Linked DNA regions of Homo sapiens: region 2 is linked to region 1. Evidence: promoter capture Hi-C in human tissues and cell types (Jung and others, 2019). All regions are on one chromosome and are shown on one strand. The core of a region is centred on a gene start or on the middle of the fragment in contact, and the rest is flanking DNA. Distances in the headings are between cores, read along the strand shown.

Region 1 (2,613 bases), core at 68-2,567:
CCCAGCCTCCCCATCCTTCATCCAGGGCAGGCCCACAAGACCCAATGACTGTGAAGGCTCCCAACTCCTGTGGCTTTTCCCCAAGAACACCTGCCCAGTTTAATTGGAATCTGAAACCCATTTAAGAGAAGCTGTGACCAGTTTCGAAGTTTTCAGAAAATAGCTTATGGTGGTGTTATAGAACAGAGAACCCTCTGAACAGGGAAAACGACAGGGCCTCTTAGGGAGTCGTGCAAAGTTAGTAACCAGGCAGAAGAATGGAAGGTGAGGGAAGTAGAAGGAGCTTTACCGCATTGGCATTCCCGCCGACCTGCATACACCTCAGCTGGAACCAGTTCCAGTTGGAATCCAACTCTGTGGACCTGTGTACAAGGGCTGCGTCTCACCCACTAGCAGATACCAGCAGGATTTCCCTGGCAACCCGGATACCTGTCACTTGGCCTCAGGCTGCTGTAGGCACCCAGGAAACATTAATCAGCCATCACCCCATTTCCTCCACACTACCCTGTCCATGAAAACTCTCCTCTTCGTTCATTTACTCCAAAGAGTACTAATTATGTCCCCAGATCCGAAAGGAGGTCACATTCTCAGGCACGCACGCCTGGATTTGGCTTTCCCCTAATGGATGGTCACAGTCTCACTAGAGACATACTGGTCTAACAACATATCAGCAACAACAAGGTCAATGCCTCCCTTTCCCCTCAACTAACGCTCAGAGTCTCAAGCCTGACCGTCAAAAAAGAGGAAGTTTTGGCCCAGAGGCGGAGACGGACCGCCCATGTGCCAAAGGGCCCACACAGGTGGTTCCCTCTGGCAGGAGGCTACCGGACCCTCTCGGCCCAGAGGCTTCCCACCGAATTCAGAGCGGCCCAAGTCGAGGCAGCCACTCTCCCTTGTTGCCCAGACACCCCTGGCCGGCCGGGTGGAAACACGGCAACCGCGCGGAGAGCCTACCTGATGAAGCTCAGATGGACGCCCAGGGAGCGGTGCACCCCGGAACAGTCAATGCACAAGAAAACACCGTACGTGATGCTGGCCCAACTCGGATTCTTGGCGCCGCAGTCGAAACAGGCCTGGGTGGAGGCGGCGATGAGCGAATCGTCAGGGGCCCCGAGTAAAGGCCAGGCACCGACACCCCAGAAACATAACCCACCTCCGCCCTTCTCCCTCCCTCAGGCCCCAGCGGGACGAGAGACTCCGCGCGCCCCCTGCTCACGCACCTTGTTGGTTGGAACTGCGCGAAGCCTCTTAAAAAGAGTCTGGATTTCGGTCTTGTTCGGCTCCGCCGCCATTTTCTCTCCTTCCCAGACACAACCGCGGCTGACGGGTCCCGCCGCGGGCCAATCCACGGCGGGGAGGGCGGGCTCACCAGGCCGGCCTCAGCGGTGCCTGGGCCAGCCGAGGGGTGGGGTGATTGGAGTCCGATCTGGACCAATGGGCAGCCGGCGGGACGGGGGCGGCGACGACAACCGCGGCCGCAAGAATCAACGCCGCGCCGGGCCAATCCGCAGCCGGGGCGGGGCGACGGCGCGCGGACCGGCCCAAACCTCCTCGCGCGCGTAGTACCCTTCCCCCCGCCCCTCCCACGCCGCAACCCCCAGGTGGAGTCGCCCCCACGCCGCGCAGGCTGCGGGAGGCTGGGGGCGGGGACCCCCACTCCAGCTAATTACAGATCGATGAATAAGGATTAGGCTGCCCAAACACTCCTCGTCCCTCCGGCCCGAACGGGCAGACGCATTGGCCCGCGTCTCGCCCAGCCTTCAGCCGTTCTCGGTTAACAGCAAGCCTGACAGCGAGTCCCCTCCACTCCAGATTAGTATCTCGAAGTTCCAGAGCAGGTACCAAGCAGGCAAACCCTTTTCCAACCCCGGCCCCATAACAGACGCTAGGCCTCTCTCTAGATGCCCTCTGGTGGCCTGGCAAGGGTGTCCTATCAAAAAAATGCACATGAGCCCGACAGTGGTGTTTTTGTTTTTGTGTGTGGGTGTGTGTCAAGTTTTAATACACGCTAGAACAAGCCACAAGAGGGTGCTGCTAGGCCAGAACTACACTCACCCCAAGCCCACCCCAGGAACCCCAAAGCAGAGGTCAGGAACTGAGTCCACAGCTCCTGGGGAGGCCCAGGCACCCCTGAACGCTTCTGTCACCTCTGACCTCCCATCTTGCCCTCAGCCTAGACTCGTCCCTTCCCTACCAGTCCCTTCCCTAGACAAAGGCCCCTCCCCTCCCTGGGTCCCAGGACTTCCTCCCTCAAGGGACAGAGGAGCAGCCAGAGAGCGACGGTTCAGGGCCCTGAGGGTCCGGCTCTCCAGGAGAAGCTGGGCTCTGAACCAGGGTGGGTAAACGTTGCAGAAGGGCTGTCAGGACACTCAGGCGCCCACACACTCCACGTAGTTGGCAGGGTACAGGCCAATGCGGCCACTCTGCAACTGGCCTTGGCACCAGCCCTGCTCGTCCTCCTCACTCATCTTCAGCAGCTCCTCCCCTGGGGGAAAGGGGATTGGTCACTGCCAGTGGCCCTGGCCCAGGCCCTGTTCCTGCAACTGGGTCAAGGACTGAGGGGGATGGTGTGGTCCCAGAGCCCAGCTAGCAAAGACATGGCTCAGGCAGAGG
Region 2 (2,613 bases), core at 75-2,574, 58 kb after region 1:
AGTTCGAGACCAGCCTGGCCAACATGGTGAAACCCCCATCTCTACTAACAATACAAAAAATTAGCTGGGCGTGGTGGTAGGCCCCTGTAATTCCCAGCTACTTGGGAGGCTGAAGCAAGAGAATCGCTTGAACCCAGGAGGCAGAGGTTGCAGTGAGCCGAGATGGCGCCATTGCACTCCATCCTGGGCAACAAGAGCGAAAATCTATCTCAAAAAAAAAAAAAAAAAATTACAGAATACTCGTCACTTTGATTTCCAGCTAGAGCCGTGACTCTGACTGCTCCCTGAGGAATTAAGTGAGGGTGCTGGGGTGTAACTAGCATTGGATTGGATCCTGGGCTGTCCCGCAGGGATGAGGAGTGCATGCGCACGCAAATCAGCAGGCAATTGGATAGACAAGGCTCCAGGCTACTCTTCCGCAAGAAATCTTCCTGCTTGAAGATATTCATAGGGGATGGCAAAAGGCAGTGTAGCATGGATTTGAGAGTTTGAGAGAAAAACTGTGAGCTGAGCTCTTCTGGCTGAATAGCAGGATCCCTGAAGCACCCTCCTAGTCAGCCTCCCAGTCCAGTGGTTTGAGGGACCAGAAGAGCTCCTGGTTGTGTTTTTTCCCCCAGTGTTCAGAAGGGGGCAGAAGTGCTTTTCTAGCCAGCTCTGAGGAACAGGGCCAGGCAATCCCTCTTTGGCTTGTGTCTCCTTTGGCCTAAAGGGTGAAGAGTGAAAGGAGAGAGCAGTAAAGGAGGCTTGCTCAGAACCCGGGGTGTGGGGGGCAGGCGTGCCTCAGGGCTTGCTTTATGGTATAAGCTTTGTCTGCTTCAGGGACTTTTAGGAGCTGGGGATCCTGGGCCCAGCCATAACCAGACAGATTTCTGAGCCCCATTATCCCATCCCCTCTGTCTGGACGGTAGAGCAGTCTGAATGTTCCTCACTAGGAATCCACGGCAAGACAGTTATTCATTCATTCAACAAATATTTATTGAATGCCCGCTGTGGGTTAGTCACCGGAGCGGCAACAGTGAGTAAATAGGACTATCTCTGTCCCCAAGAATCTTACAACACAGTCTCTCCCTCCAGCATCTGGTTTTGTAGCCTGGATGTGTCTGCTAGTAGCCGAATGGTGGTCACAGGAGACAACGTGGGGAACGTGATCCTGCTGAACATGGACGGCAAAGAGGTGCGTTCTCCGAGGTCCTGCCTTTCCCTCCCTCACCCCCACCTCGGTTCTGTGTCCCCACCTGAACCGAGCTCTTCTCTGCAGCTTTGGAATCTCAGAATGCACAAAAAGAAAGTGACGCATGTGGCCCTGAACCCATGCTGTGATTGGTTCCTGGCCACAGCCTCCGTAGATCAAACAGTGAAAATTTGGGACCTGCGCCAGGTTAGAGGGAAAGCCAGCTTCCTCTACTCGCTGCCGCACAGGCATCCTGTCAACGCAGGTGTGATATCCCAGACCTCATCTCTCCTGCAGACCCTGCCTGTCTGACCACTGCTGGGGTTTTCCCTCAGTGTGGAAGCCACTACGTCAAACCTTTACCCCTGATAGCGTCTGCCAAGCTGATGTCTGGGAACCTTTGTGGCTGTGGCTGTCCCCATCAGCTGCTGAGTTTCCAGAATTTTTTTGTTGTTGTTCACAGCCCAGATTCACCTCTTCCTTTCCGCTCCTGTCTAGAGAGGAGTGGGAGGGAGAGTACCCCTGCAGGAGAAGGCCTGCAAGGCCAGGACCACAGAGGGCTTGTGGTTCCTTCAGCTCAGGGGCTTTTCACTTTGCCAGCTTGTTTCAGTCCCGATGGAGCCCGGCTCCTGACCACGGACCAGAAGAGCGAGATCCGAGTTTACTCTGCTTCCCAGTGGGACTGCCCCCTGGGCCTGATCCCGCACCCTCACCGTCACTTCCAGCACCTCACACCCATCAAGGTGAGTGGCGGTGGGAAGGAGCTCGCAGAAGGAGGCTGTGATCATGAGGCCGGAGCAGGTCTGCCCACAGTGGGGAAGGGCTGATGTGGTAAGCCTGCCACCCCAGATCGCTCCTGGCCCGAGCACAGAGCATCTCTTACCCATTGGCTCTCTCTCTTCCTTTTATCCCACTTCTGCCATCCCATATGGTTGAGTTTTCTGTCTCGCTGATAAGATATTTTTCTGAGTTTTTTCAGCCCAGCTCTGATCTCACTGTGAGAATTTTCTAAGATCCTGACCCTCTGTTCTGTCTTCTCAGCTTCAGTTACCTGTGTACAGTTGACCCACAAACCTTCATTTTTTATTTTTTTATTATTTTTTTTAAGGCAGGGTCTCGCTCTGTCACCCAGGTGGGAGTACAGTGGGGCAAGCATGGTTCATTACAGCCTTGATCTCCCAGGCTCAAGCGATCCTCCTGCCTCACTTTTTTTTTTTTTGTAGAGACAGGGTATTCTTGTGTTACCCAGGCTGATCCTTTTTTTTTTTTTTTTTTTTTTTCTTGAAACGGTCTTGCTCTGTCACCCAGGCTGGAGTGCAGTGGCACAAACATAGCTCACTGCAGCCTCAACCTCCTGGGTTCAAGCAATCCTTCCGCCTTAGCCTCGGAAGTAGATTGGACTACAGGTATGCGCCACCATACCCAGCTAATTTTTTTATTTT

The links. The method cuts DNA at HindIII sites, captures the fragments that hold promoters and counts their contacts. A contact is called where the count stands out against the background at its distance.
Region 2: a fragment that was not itself captured here is called in contact with the fragment with the promoter of ARFGAP2 in region 1 in 1 of the 25 tissues and cell types used here (thymus).

Annotation. Positions count from the first base shown.
Region 1 is chr11:47,175,562-47,178,174 of GRCh38, forward strand. ARFGAP2 (ARF GTPase activating protein 2) reads right to left here and starts at 1,318. Exons shown (of 16, transcript NM_032389.6): 1 at 1,221-1,318; 2 at 955-1,073; 3 at 290-362. The coding sequence starts at 1,292. PACSIN3 (protein kinase C and casein kinase substrate in neurons 3) reads right to left here. Exons shown (of 11, transcript NM_016223.5): 11 at 1,961-2,485. The coding sequence ends at 2,370. RefSeq lists enhancers at 1,066-1,295, 1,837-2,418, 2,266-2,315, 2,396-2,445 and a silencer at 1,346-1,775. The HindIII fragment of the contact is 14,797 bases long and covers 1-2,613 here.
Region 2 is chr11:47,233,499-47,236,111 of GRCh38, forward strand. It overlaps DDB2 (damage specific DNA binding protein 2), which reads left to right. Exons shown (of 10, transcript NM_000107.3): 5 at 1,075-1,174; 6 at 1,259-1,436; 7 at 1,772-1,914. Among named protein-coding and RNA genes, the nearest start is that of ACP2, 14 kb to the right of the region's middle. The HindIII fragment of the contact is 6,251 bases long and covers 1-2,613 here.